Regions from separate parts of the Homo sapiens genome. Here all the other regions are linked to region 5. The links are contacts of gene promoters, found by promoter capture Hi-C in blood cells and fetal thymus (Javierre and others, 2016). All regions are on one chromosome and are shown on one strand. The core of a region is centred on a gene start or on the middle of the fragment in contact, and the rest is flanking DNA. Distances in the headings are between cores, read along the strand shown.

Region 1 (2,700 bases), core at 171-2,670, 600 kb after region 5:
AAGTTTGTGATATGTCCCTATACATATCAGCTCTGCCATAAAAAAGCTAAACTCTCTCAGAATTAAGATATGTTAAGCAATGATGTGCTATTATTTATAGGCATGTAAGAGTGAAGGACAACTCATTAACATGGGAACGAAATAAATTCAGACATCTACTTTTAGCACGTTCATGAAATAACAACATTTCAGCTGGCCTGTCTACCAGGGAGTGGAAGTGCTCATTTGGGTAGACAGCGCTCCTCAGTAATGAAATGTTTTGATTTGAAATGTAAATGTTTCTTTCCAGGGGTTTTAGAAATCCAGCTTGGAAGATTAATATATTCTTGCCTGCTCCCCTTGCAGCCTGGCTATGGCAGTTGAAAGCCTCTGTACACAGGGCTGCTATTAGCTGCCACCAGTATGGGCTGTGTTTGGTCAAGAATACTGGCCTGGTTGTTTCTTCCAGAGAAAACCAATCCTTCACTGCTGAACAGAAAAGAACCTTCATCAAATGTCAACTACATTGAATAACCTTTCTGGTGACGTTCTTTGGAGGAGCCAGTATATTCTTCTCACTACCTTAAATCCTGGAGATACTAATAAGCGAAGATTAGTCTATTGCATGTGTAAAACTCTGAAGTGGCCACAGCATTCCTGTAAAACAGTCACTGCCATCAAACAAACAAACAAAATTCCATAGTAGTTATTCATCTGCAAAATGGACAAGCTTATTTCTAAGATTCCTACCAAAGTCCTATCGATCTGTGAATATACACATATCTCAATCACGTAGACTCCAAATGAACCTAGGGCTAGTTTAATTAAAATTAACTATATTTCTCTGAATCATGAAAACATGATCAGAGGAAAAAAGGCAGCAGATGCCTTGGGGTGTTTTATGAATACAGCCTGAGGAAAATCTGGCTTCCTACTTTAAGACAGAACTTATATCCAAAAGATTCCATTTACCTCCCATTTTTGTAAAACTAAGAAATTGGTTTTGTCCAATTAAGATTTTGCTATCTGTGATTTCCCAGTATTGCATGTGCACTGAGGCATTCAGAATGATACCTAATTAAGTTGCTATTTTAGTGTTAATTTAGTGCTATTTTAGTGGTCTCAAATGTTAAGCTGGATCTGCTGCTACGTGGAATAGCTTTTGAAAGTGACAGTCTGGGCCAGTTGTGGTGGCTCACGCCTGTAATCCCAGCACTTTGGGAGGCTGAGGTGGGCGGATCACCTGAGGTCAGGAGTTTGAGACCAGCCTGGCCAACATGGTGAAACCTCGTCTCTAGTAAAAATACAAAAATTAGCTGGGCATGGTGGTGTGTGCCTGTAATACCAGCTACTCGGGAGGCTGAGGCAGGAGAATCACTTGAACCCGGCAGGCAGAGGTTGCAGTGAGCCAAGATTGCACCACTGCCCTCCAGCCTGGGCAATGAGAGTGAAACTCTGTCTCAAAAACAAAAAACAAAACAAACAAAAGAAAGTGACAGTCTGACCACAGTAGAATTAGAAGAGTAAACACCTGTCAGTGTGTACTGATGGTCAGCAATCAAATCGCCAAGGGTATCAGACAGTTTCATCTGAAAATCATGGATACCATTCTTAGAGATGGACCCACACATTTTCCTGAACACTTTCCTGGGCTAAACAAACAGAACCTTTTGGAAGGCCCCTTGCAGGGTGGACAGTGTCACTGGGACCATGCCATAAAGCCAGAAGCTACATTAAAATTGCAGTGAATGCCAGGCACTGTGGCTCATATCTATAACCCTAGGACTTTGGGAAGCCAAGGCAGGAGGATTGCTTGAGCTCAGGAATTCAAGACCAGCCTGGGTAACACAGTGAGACCTATTGTGTACAAAAAAGTTAAAAAAATTAGCCTGGTATGGTGGCACACACCTATAGTGCTGGCTACTCGGGAGGCTGAGGACAGAGGATCACTTGAGCCTGGGAGGTCAAGGCTGTGGTGAGCTGTGATTATGCCACTGCACTCCAGCCCTGTCCCTCCCTCCGGAAAAAATCACTATGACCACTCAGTCTACGGTGTCCCTGAGCTTTCATGGCTCCCCTGTCTTTGGTTGAGTCCTAGTCAGTCTAAGGAAACTTTTCAAAAAGTTATCCTCAGTCAGCCATTAAAGCTTACCTAGACAGAGGACTTAGGAGGAGAGGAATGGAGGTATGTGTTCGTTTAACATGTTTACTAGCCTGTGCTAGGTGCAATGGAAAATGGATGAGCCAAGCAGACAGATTCCTGCCCTCACAGGACTTACAGGCTGGTAGGCTTGGATAAAATAACTGTGAGGGCGTTAGAGAGTGTGATTTTTTTAGTGATTTGGTCCCTTGGACGTATGGGTTAGAATTAAGGGTTTGTGGGTTAGCCCAGGGTCTCTCCTATACTTTGAGACTCCTTTGTTTCTTGTTCATTTCTATTTGTAGATGCAATTGAATTCACTGAGCCTGAATCCAAATCAGGGAAACTGGTGGTTCACGGACTACATTTCATTTGTGCATTGGAAACCAGGGAATTCAACACAAACATCCGGATTGCTGATTTTTCTTGAGAGTTGGTAGTTCTACCAACACTGGGACCTGATCTTCTGCTTGGTGATGATAAACTGCAGCTGAGCTGCTCACCCAGTTAGATGGGTCACGTGCTTTCTGGCTTACCAAAGTCCCCACCACTCCCTAAGGCCTTACATGACATTGTTCACT
Region 2 (2,700 bases), core at 7-2,506, 620 kb after region 5:
TCTGCCTGCCTCAGCCTCCCAAAGTGCTGGGATTACAGGCGTGAGCCACCACGCCTGGTTGGGGGCAAGTTTTAATCAACAGTTAGCTTCTGCTTAAAGTAAAGAAACAATAACAACAATACAAGAATACCTTGAATCCGTTGGTTCCACTCTCACATTATCATAAACCGTAAAGGGGATGCCATTCTTCACTAGGGAATCCATAGCTACTTGCACAGGAGGGAGCTTGGAGAGGTTCTTGTCTGTCATCAAGCACACATTTTTAGCACCCATGTTTTTTAGGTCCTACAAGAAAACCTATAAGTTAGGTTCAACTCCACTAGAACTGCAATAGACTCTTCTGGCAAACTCACGTTGTACATTTTTAAAAATAGAGGATGTGATTGTTGTCATTTAGCATGGTCTTGTGAGATATGTAACATTTACAGTAGGAGACCGTAGACATCTCGAATACTTGCCATTCCTACTTCCTTTGTAACTGCTGCTCCATATCTAATATTTGAAACAGCCATCTGAAAAAAATAAAAAGGTTTAGGTGTAGGGAGTATTTGAGAGTTGGCCAGTCCATTTCTAAAAACCTGAAATGGTTTCTTGTTGCCTAGAGCATAAAGTATACACTCCTTAGCATGGTCTTCCAGGTCATCTCCCACCTGGTCTCACTTAAAGAAGTGTGGACGCACCACACTTCCTTAAGCAAACTTCAGCTCCTGTCATTTGAATGACTTGTCTTTTCCCAAACACATCATAAACTCTCAACTGTTCCCTTAGCTTCAAATGCCTACCTTCTTCCAACTCCACCTGTAAAATAACTCTCAAATGTCTTACTTTCCATTCATCCACCCACCCTTGCATACCTGCCACCCAGTCAATGCTACTGTCTTCTATGTTCGAGGCACTGTGTAGGCTCTGGTAACTCAACTATGAATAAGAGACACAGGGCCTCATAAAGTTTACGGGTGAGAGAAAGGCTTTTACACTGATGGATGATGGGTCATGTTTCGCCTGAAATATATTTTATTTGATCTGTGTTATGTTTAAATTTCTTTTTTTTTTTGAATTGACTAATAATGCTTAAAAATCAGGATAAAAAATTTAATAAGACCATCTGAATTTCACTTTCTCTTGAATAATCCAGCAAACTGGGAATGCATTCCCATATGGCAGTGATCTTATAAGGTTGAGTGGAGTCACACCTTAGATGGGGCCTGTGCCTTCAGTGAGCTCACCATGGCATCACCCAGCCTGGTCATCTCTTGGTTAACTGTCAGGCCCCCGGTGACATTTTAATTAGTCATTCCTGAAGGCAGGCGCGGTGGCTTATGCCTGTAATCCTGGCACTTTGGGAGGCCGAGGTGGTCAGATCACCTGAGGTCAGGAGTTCGAGACCAGCCTGGCCAACATGGCAAAACCCTGTCTCTACTAAAAATACAAAAATTAGCTGGGTGTGGTGGTGTGCACCTGTAATCCCAGCTACTCAGAAGGCTGAGGCAGGAGAATCGCTTGAACTCAGGAGGCGGAGGTTGTAGTGAGCTGAGATCACACCACTGCACTCCAGTCTGGGTGACAGAGTGAGGCTGTCTCCAAAAAAAAAAAAAAAAAAAAAAAAAAAAAAAATTCCTGGACTAGGAGGAGACAGGGACTTAAACAAATAATTATAAGTAATTATGTAATTACAGTGTGATAAAAATACACCAGAATTGTTACTTTACTTTGACCTCTTTTGGGATTGTTATAATTAAAAAACTAAAGATTTAACACATAACATATATGTACTGGAGAATTTGTAGAATTGGGAATTTATCCTATTTTAGTGACTCTACAAAGACAGCACTCTAGACATTAGCCATGATCTCAGAAGGTTTATATTCCATTATACCAACCAGGTACTTTGCTAAATATGGTCTGATCAAATAGAGATTATGGAATGTGAATTAATAACAGATTTAAAATAAAATAATAATTCATTAGCAAAATATTCTAGTTTTATTTTTTTCTAGTCATTCATAAAAGAAATAATGGATTGAGTGAATATACCTCAAAGGCATAATCTGTTGTTTTCCCAGAAGGTGAAAGTCCAGGGGCTAGAAATGTAAAAGTTAGCATCAAAGTGGGTCTTTAAAAAAAAGCATAAATGTTATTTGATAGTAAAATCCAGCAGTGAACATAAGTATTTCCTTTGAAGTCTTACCAAAAATATATTTTTTCCAGGTTTCACTGTTGCACATCAAATTAAAATCAATACCTGTATTTTAAGATAGAATGTAATGCGGCCAAGCACAGTGGCTCACACCTGTAATCCCAGCACTTTGGGAGGCTGAGGCGGGTGGATCACGAGGTCAGGAGATCGAGATCATCCTGGCTAACATGGTAGAACCCTGTCTCTACTAAAAATACAAAAAAATTAGCCAGGTGTGGTGGCGAGCGCCTGTAGTCCGAGCTACTCGGGAGGCTGAGGCAGGAGAATGGTGTGAACCTGGGAGGTGGAGCTTGCAGTGAGCCGAGATCGCGCCACTGCACTCCAGCCTGGACAACAGAGTGAGACCCCGTCTCAAAAAAAAAAAAAAAAAAAGATAGAATGTAATGCTAACTTGAGCCTAATTTGTGAAAATAATAAAACATTTCTTGCATTATATTTAAAATATGTGTTTGAAAATCTAATGTGTAACAATCCTCTAGGAAAAAAATCCCCTGGTTTAGAGT
Region 3 (2,741 bases), core at 29-2,528, 650 kb after region 5:
CTAATACTGCTTTTGTTGTGTATGTTGATTGATTTTCCATGTGTTTGGTAATTTTGAGTTATGCACTTGTTTTTGGCAAGGCTTTATCTGTGGGAATCCTGTGTAATCTGGATTAAGGGCATGTCCTCTCAGAGAAGTTTTGAATTTGCTTCATTGTTAGCTGGAAACCTTTTTTAAAAATTAATAACTTGGTTTAGGGGCTCCTAGATCATTTGGGTTATGTAAATCTAAACCCCAAACCCACATAAGAAGGAGCCCATAGCAAAATTGAGTTAAAATATTTTCAAAATTAGTTTTTATGGGTTATGTGAGATATTTTGATACAGGCATGCAATGCGTAGTAATCACATCAGGGTAAATGGGGTATCCATCATTTCAAGCGCAGGTAAAATATTTTTTTCACACCCGATCCAGGTTATGCCATTCAAGCTTCTTTATTATAATTTACTTCCATTACTGGTTGGATTTTTACTTTTTTTAGTTTACCCTTTCATCTAGGCCTATTTGGGGATGTTGTTTCTAATTTCCCACCTCATGTGGCCCGAGGTCTTTTCCCATGAGCAGTTAAATCCAAATCGCTAGGTGTTGGAGATCAGCACCCATCCTTTCCACCCTCCCAGGGCTGCTGTAACATTCTCTCTAGTTTCTAGTTCTTTCTTTGCTTTTGGTCTCTGAAACTATCTTTTCCTTTCATGAAAGCTCAACTATGAATTCAAAATTATGTTTGTCCTATTTCTTGCAACATTTTTGACATTTGCCATTGCACTCCAGCCTGGGCAACAGAGCAAGACCCCATCTCTAAAATAATAATAATAATAATAATAATAATAATAATAATTTTTAAAACCCAAACAAAATAAAAAAAAAAAGAAGAGGAACTTTGAACGTGGACACTTAAGAAGGAAGATGATGTGAAGACATAGAGAAGACAAACAACCATCTATAAGTCAAGGAATGAGGCCTGGAGCAAATCCTTCCTTCATGGTCCTTATAAGGAACAAACCCTGCTGACAGTTTGATTTTGGACTTCTAGACTCTAGAATATGAGAAAGTTCCTTTCCTTCCTTCCTTCCTTCCTTCCTTCCTTCCTTCCTTCCTTCCTTCCTTCCTTCCTTCTTTCCTTCCTTCCTTCCTTTTTTTGAGACTGAGTCTTATTCTGTCACCCAGGCTGGAGTGCAATGGTGCAATTTTGGCTTACTGCAACCTTCGCCTCCTGAGTTCAAGTGATTCTCCTGCCTCAGCCTCCCGAATAACTGGGATTACAGGCGCGTGCCACCATGCGCAGCTAATTTTTGTATTTTTAGTAGAGATGGGGTTTCATCATGTTGGTCAGGCTGGCCTCGAACTCCTGACCTCAAGTCATCTGCCCGCCTCAGCCTCCTGAAGTGTGGGATTACAGGCGTGAGCCACCATGCCTGGCCTAATTTCTATTGTTTAAGCCACTCAGTTTGTGTTACTTTGTTAGGGCAGCCCTAGCAAACTACTACACTGACCAACATATTGGTCATTTTTCTCATTTGTAAACTGAAGAAAAATTGCAATATCTTCTTCATCCTATTGTGAGGATTAAATATGATAATGTATGCACCATGTCTGGCACATAGAAAGTATTTGTTACATGTTAGCTTTTATTACTAGTATTGAACTTGGTATTGAATGTGGTTGTTACATCCTTTAAATAGCAGATTGGTTTATCTGCTATTTTACTATTTTGTAGGTGTCTTCAGGCATTCACATTTCCTTCATTTTGAGTTATCAAAATCTCAGCTTAATAGAACTGGAGTTTTAAAATTTATGGTTCAAACTATTCTCTAAAAATATCTCATATGCAAATGATCCCAACCAGATTGTGATATTCGAAAATAGTCAAAAGACCATTAGCTTAACTCCATGGAAGTCCATATAAAGACAAATACCTAAAATAGAATGTGAATTATTGTTGAAGTATTTCAGAAGGAACTTAAAAGAGGTAAAGGTGGTTGTAGATGACTTGAATAAAATACATTAGTAAACTACATATCCCATAAAATATACTACATTCTTATTTAGGAAAAATATTAAAACTGCTTAGCCAAATAACCTTTTAAAGATAAAAAGACTTCTCCATTTACTTTGCCCAAAGCTTCCTTTGCAATAGCTGATAATGTCACAGACCTCTTAGTGCGAAGATAGGAAAATAGCAGAAAACCTAGGGGAAGAGTACTTTAGAATAAAGTGCTAAAGGATCAGTGGGAAGGATTGGCATCTCTAGAAATGGATGCTTTAGGGAAGAATCATATGCACTTTCCCCCAGTTTACTCTAATTGTGCAAGGCATCCTTCATTAGAGAGTGACTTAGACTTTAATCATGAATGTTGAAGGTTGGCCTAGAAGAATCTTTCCTGATAGTGGGATATAATTATGCTTGTAACAAAACAAGAATGGATTCTAATTCTGAGTCTAATTAATTTGCTAATTCCAGGCATTGTCAGAAAAGTGATGCAAACTGTAAACTTTCTGTTAGGTAATAATGCTAACTTGTTTCCCACACAGCATCATTGAAAAGGCTATCAGTTGGGGTTCTGAGTCGTTTATATCGAAGAGCCAGCCTCTTAGTCTGGAGTTTTCCACTCTCCAATTTGAGGAAGAGAGGAGAGTAGAAAAGAGATGTTAATGGGGATGGTACATGTGAAACGTTGGAAGATTTGGAAGCAATCCTAGATTATATTTAAAAAGCAATCTAGCTTTTTTCTTTAGAAAAT
Region 4 (2,700 bases), core at 3-2,502, 950 kb after region 5:
GCCTGGGCAACAAAGCAAGACCCCCATCTCTACAAAAGATACGAAAATTAGCTAGACATGGTGGTGTTTACCTGTAGTCCCAGCTACTTGGGAGGCTGAGGCAGAAGGATCTCTTGAGCCCAGGAGTTCAAAGCTGCTGCGGGCTATGATTGATTGCACCATTGCACTCCAGCTCCTGGGACAGAGTGAGATCTGGTTATACACACACACACACACACACACACACACACACACACACACCAAAAAAAAGATAGAAAAGAAAAAAAAAAGAAAAGATAGATCCTGAAGACATAAAGAGTATCTAATATGAGCTCCAGAAAGAGAAAACAGAGACAATGCAGGGGTAAGAATAAAAGAAAGACATTGGTCATCAGATGGAAAGGATCATGCAAGTTAGGATGAATGAAAAATAACCATGCCTGGACACAGCCTAGTGACATTCAAAAGCATTGAGGATAAAGATGAAACCCTGTAACTTTCAGAGATGGAGGAAAACAAAGCAAAATCTAAACAAGAACTAGGCTAGCTACAAAGGAATAAGAATTGGATTATGATCAGACTTCTCATCATCATTACTGGATGCTAGAAGACAGTTGAGCATGGCCTTCAAAGCTCTGCAAAGAAATAATTTTAAGCCTAGAATTGTATGCCAATCAAAGTAGCAATCACATATGAGGACTAATAGTTCATAGTTGCAAGGTCTCATAAAGTTTAAATCTATGATTCCTCTCTGAAACAAATAAAAAGTAAGTAAACATTATTTGAGGATGTTGTACTGGATGGGTTCTCCAGTAAGCTGAAGCTCATGCAGAATTAGAGCACAACATTTTACAGGGGAGTAACATCTGTGAATGGAAAAGGGGAGGACACAGGATTGGGTAGGGGTAGTCATTAGACAGTGATGCAGACCCGACAAAGTTTCTGCCAACCCTCTTGGTGGCTCCAGAGCAAAGATTTCCTTTTGGAGGAGTCTCAAGTTGGGCAGAAATGGTGGGGCCCTAGCATCACCACCTTGCTCAGTCATTGGCCAGAGGCTTAGAACCTTGGCTAGAGGAGTTAACACCTGATGGCTACTAGTTAACCATCCTCCTTGCAGCTGGGCAGTGAGTTCTTTCTTGAAAGGCAGTCTAGCAGCATGTCTCTGTGTATGCCATGGATGTACTTCAGCAAAGCAAAGTAAGAATCCAAGAAGGAGGAGTACACAGGATTTAAGAAAAAAGGAAACCAACCCAGGGACTCAATGAAAAGAAAATCTCAGGTTGACAGTGATGCAGCTGGCAAAGAAAGCAATCAGGACAAATTAAGGGGAGGAAAAAAAAGTTAGAGGGCTCTGGGAAGTTTATTTTTCAAAAAGAAGCGGATTCTTTTACAATAGTAGTGTGATTAAGGATCTGGGAGACCTTAGAGATATGATAAAGGCACATGTCACTTTTCTCAAAAAGACAGAACGAAGATACTCAGGGATTTCTAAAAAAAACAAAAAAACAAAAAAAAACTTTATAAAAAATACGTGGTTCAAATATAAAGCAAACTGAAATATGGCACAATTTTGAGAAATTGATGGCATGCTTGTTGTTGGGCTGAATTGTGTTCTGTCTTCCCTCCCCACCCCAATTTATTTGTTGAAGACCTAACCCCTAGTACTTCAGAATGTGACTGTATTTGGAGATAAGGCCTTTAAAGAGGTAATTAAGCAAAAATGAGGTCATTAGGGTGCACCCTGATCCAATACAACTGGTGTCCTTATAAGGAGAACAGAATACAGAGACAGCAGGCACATGCATGCATAGAGAGAAGGCTACAGGAAGACGCAGGGAGAAGACGGCCATCTACAAGCCACGGAGAGAGGTCTCAGAAGAAACCAAACCTGCCAATACCTTGAGCTTAGACTTCTAGCCTCTAGAAGTGTGAGAAAACAAATTTATCTTTTTAAAAGCCACCCAGTCTGTGATATTTTGTTATGATAGCCCTAACAAACTATATGGGGATGGTGAAGAAATTTGCTTTTGTTTCTGCATTTTTTGACATCATTACATTTTTGTTTAACCATATGTAAGTTATTTTACATAACACGTATGGGTCAGAGTGTCCCATAATTGTCATCTAATTATAGATATTCTGTAATAAAAATTGCTTAAGAATGAAGAAACTGAGGCCCAAATATGTGAAATGACTTATCCAAGGTAACAGAGGGGAGAAGTGGCATATGAGATCTTAGGCCTCCTGAATCACAGCCAGGGCTTTCTGTAGCACTGCTTGGTCTCTCTGTCCTCAGATGGACACTTGGGTTAGGGATATTGGGCTGGCAGCTGCTACTCTGGGAGGAAGGAGGTTGAAAGGCAGGTTCTGATGCCAGTACGGTCAGAAAATGGACATTCTGGGAGTAGAAAAGCGTTTCATCTATTAAAGGTTATTCTCTTCTCACCTCTAAATCCAAAGGTGAAATCCCTTAAATTTGTTAACAGCAGTGCTCCAAGGAGGTGTGTCAAGACTCCGTGAAATGTGAAAAAAAAAAGCCATTGTTTATTTGAAAAATTATTCCTTAGACATATGTGCACTAAAGAGCTTTCAAGTTTTTCCTTTCAGTCAAGGAAACCATTCTACAGATCAGGAAGCTCTACCCAGAAAGATTAAACAATGTCTTTAGGATGACCATCCAGATTAGGGGAGCAAGGCTGTATTCAGGCTTACTGACTTATC
Region 5 (2,700 bases), core at 111-2,610:
AAAAAGAGATGAAGCTGGAAGAGGTGCATAGGGGCCAGGTTGTTAACAGCTGTGGTGCTATCTTTTCTTTTTTCTTCTTTTTTCTTTCTTTCTTTCTTTTTTTTTTTTTTTTTTTTTTTGAGACTGGCTCTGTCTAACAGGCTGGAGTGGCGCAATCTCGGATCACTGCAACTTCCGCCTCCTGGGTTCAAACGATTCTCCTGCCTCAGCCTCATGAGTAGCCGGGACTACAGGCGCACATCATCACGCCCGGCTAATTTTTTTTTGTATTTTTTTAGTAGAGACGGGGTTTCACCATGTTGGCCAGGCTGGTCTTGAACTCCCGACCTCAAGTGATCAGCCCGCCTCGGCTGCCCAAAGTGCTGGGATTACAGGCGTGAGCCACCGCGCCTGGCCTGTCATGCTATCTTTTCAGGAAATAAAAGAAAAAAAAATCTTGAACACCTATGCTAGGTGCTAGGAGATAAAACAAGGAACGCAGACCTGCTCCCTGTGTCTTGAAACTTAAAATCTTGCACGGATGGAAGAATGAGATGGAGAAAAAAGAAAACCTAAAACACGTGAACTAATAAAAAAATTAAACATTGTATTAACTGTAGGAAGAAAACAAACCAGTTACCCAGATTAATTACGCTTTGGGAACAAATGCGGTTCACAGGAGTGCCAAAGATTTAACTGTAACCTGTTACGAGAACTGAGTACTGGACATTTTCAGATCAGTAATGGCACATTATATATACGTAGATGTTAACTTTTACCAAAGCGCAAAAAAGCAATCAAGGAGTACCCACTGCCTCCTCGCATCGATAGAAAAAGCCCATCTGCAAGTGAAGTGCCAAGCCACCACGAGCCCGTTAGCTTTTACGCATGTACAGTGAGTCATCTTGAAGTAAACGGGAATGCCATGTTTATCTTCCTCTCAACCAGCTTCCAGAACGACTTTTAGCTCAGTTGTACAACAGACAGCCTTACCTTTTAGTCTTTCAACAAACTTATCTCATTTAAGGTACCTATACCCACACAAAAACACTTTCCGCCCTCCACATCCCGCTCTTAAGGCTCCAGCTACCTTTAATATGGCGGAGGCCGAGCCTGCGCATTAGAAGCAGAGAAGGCAAATACCAGTTTCTGGAATAACGTTACATGCCCTTCTTCCGGTGCGGAAGACTATACCACTCCCATACCCTATAACTTTGTTTGTTCTATTTCACACATATAATTTTCCGAGACAAGATGTTCTCATTTAAGCAACAAGAAGATTCGTCTCTCGCTATTACTGTAACTGCTGTTTATATCGTCATGTCCCGGAAAGGTCCCTGTCTTCCCTGAATGGTCTCTACCAACTTCACCTCCGGTTCTAGGTGTCATGGCTGCCCCAAGAGTCTAGGTAAGAGTTTGTTCCCGTGGTGCGGAGGGTCAAGGCCCACACCCGGAAACCTAGCGAGGTAAAGTTGCGTCTTGGTTGTAGAGACGACAACTTCTCCGCTTCCTCGGCGATGGCGGCGTCCGGGAGCGGTATGGCCCAGAAAACCTGGGAACTGGCCAACAACATGCAGGAAGCTCAGAGTATCGATGAAATCTACAAATACGACAAGAAACAGCAGCAAGAAATCCTGGCGGCGAAGCCCTGGACTAAGGAGTGAGGAGGTCCCTGGCGAGACGCAGGGGAGGGAAAGGGTGGCGGAGTTTAAGAGACCCAGAGGGAGAGGGAGGTGAAAGGGGTGAAGAGCTTTCACCGACTGGGAGGGGGACAGAATATGCGTCTTGGATCTGCAAGTAGAGCCTAAGCCCTCCGCTGGGGCTTTCACTCCCCTTTCTGTCGCTTTAATCCATTTGCCCCCGGGTGATGTAAGGGGAGAACAACAAGCGGTGATTTAAGTTGTCACTTCTGAACATCCGTATTGTCATATATGCCACACACCCTACCTTGAGCCCAGTGTCGACATGCACCTTGTTTGGGTCTTCAACTAATCCCAAACTGGGGATTGCAGCTGTTTTCAGAAATCGAGTCAGCAGCCCAAGGTCTCAAAAATAGCTATGAGCTATTTTCTTTTCTTTTTTTTTTAATAGAAATGGGTCCTCGCTGTGTTGCTCAGGCTGATCTCGAGCTTCTGCCTTCAAGCGATCCTCCCGCCTTCGCCTTCCAAAGTGCTGGGATTACAGGCGTGAGGCCTGGGCCTATAATAGTTTTTTGATTGCTGGTAATTATTTCGGAGGCACACGGAGGCTCTACTACCTGGTCTCTAAAATGTTACTCCACCAGTTCCCATAAGCCAGAAATTATAAAAATAGAGCTTAAGACCTTTTGCCCTTCAACAATATCCATTTTTCCCTGGGAGTGGTGACAAGTCGAGGGATCTTTACCCATAATATTTATCTTTTCCTGAGAGCATCTCCTGAGAGATTTCCTGCTATCAGGAAAAGATAATTATTACGGGTTATGTTTGAGAGTAAAAAGAGCACGAAAGCTAATGGTTAGATAGAAAGGAAAGCTGTGGTCAACAAGAGGACATACTTCTACTGCCTCACAGTTTTTTTTACAAGGCTAGCCTTGTCTCTCAGTATTCAGATTCCACAATGGTGAACTGCGGAAGCACCTAGCTAGAGATTTCCACGTCATTTAATTTTCATGACAACCCAGTACAGTATATCCATCCTTTTGTTACAAATTAAAAAACAAGCAAATACGTTATGTAATTT

What was found. Contacts are between HindIII fragments. The CHiCAGO score rates a contact against its expected background, and 5 or more counts as called.
Region 1: a contact is called between a fragment that was not itself captured here and the fragment with the promoter of COPS5 in region 5, in 4 of 17 cell types (naive CD8 T cells, total B cells, endothelial precursors and 1 more). The highest score is 6.5, in naive CD8 T cells.
Region 2: a fragment that was not itself captured here is called in contact with the fragment with the promoter of COPS5 in region 5 in 4 of 17 cell types (total CD8 T cells, naive B cells, activated CD4 T cells and 1 more); the score reaches 8.1 in total CD8 T cells.
Region 3: a contact is called between a fragment that was not itself captured here and the fragment with the promoter of COPS5 in region 5, in 1 of 17 cell types (non-activated CD4 T cells). The highest score is 5.5, in non-activated CD4 T cells.
Region 4: a fragment that was not itself captured here is called in contact with the fragment with the promoter of COPS5 in region 5 in 3 of 17 cell types (naive CD4 T cells, total B cells and total CD8 T cells); the score reaches 6.5 in naive CD4 T cells.

What each region holds. Positions count from the first base shown.
Region 1 is chr8:66,461,580-66,464,279 of GRCh38, reverse strand. All of the region lies in intron 13 of ADHFE1 (alcohol dehydrogenase iron containing 1), which reads right to left. Among named protein-coding and RNA genes, the nearest start is that of ADHFE1, 30 kb to the right of the region's middle. The HindIII fragment of the contact is 1,417 bases long and covers 712-2,128 here.
Region 2 is chr8:66,442,179-66,444,878 of GRCh38, reverse strand. It overlaps ADHFE1 (alcohol dehydrogenase iron containing 1), which reads right to left. Exons shown (of 14, transcript NM_144650.3): 3 at 2,035-2,081; 4 at 459-512; 5 at 131-285. Among named protein-coding and RNA genes, the nearest start is that of ADHFE1, 11 kb to the right of the region's middle. The HindIII fragment of the contact is 3,186 bases long and covers 1-2,700 here.
Region 3 is chr8:66,414,539-66,417,279 of GRCh38, reverse strand. The region is part of intron 1 of LOC102724687 (a long non-coding RNA gene); the gene reads left to right. Among named protein-coding and RNA genes, the nearest start is that of RRS1-DT, 13 kb to the left of the region's middle. The HindIII fragment of the contact is 1,693 bases long and covers 432-2,124 here.
Region 4 is chr8:66,107,464-66,110,163 of GRCh38, reverse strand. No RefSeq gene overlaps it. Among named protein-coding and RNA genes, the nearest start is that of TRY-GTA5-1, 4.6 kb to the left of the region's middle. The HindIII fragment of the contact is 6,679 bases long and covers 1-2,700 here.
Region 5 is chr8:67,060,793-67,063,492 of GRCh38, reverse strand. COPS5 (COP9 signalosome subunit 5) reads left to right here and starts at 1,360. Exons shown (of 8, transcript NM_006837.3): 1 at 1,360-1,639. The coding sequence starts at 1,497. RefSeq lists enhancers at 1,154-1,423, 1,604-1,693. The HindIII fragment of the contact is 5,475 bases long and covers 1-2,700 here.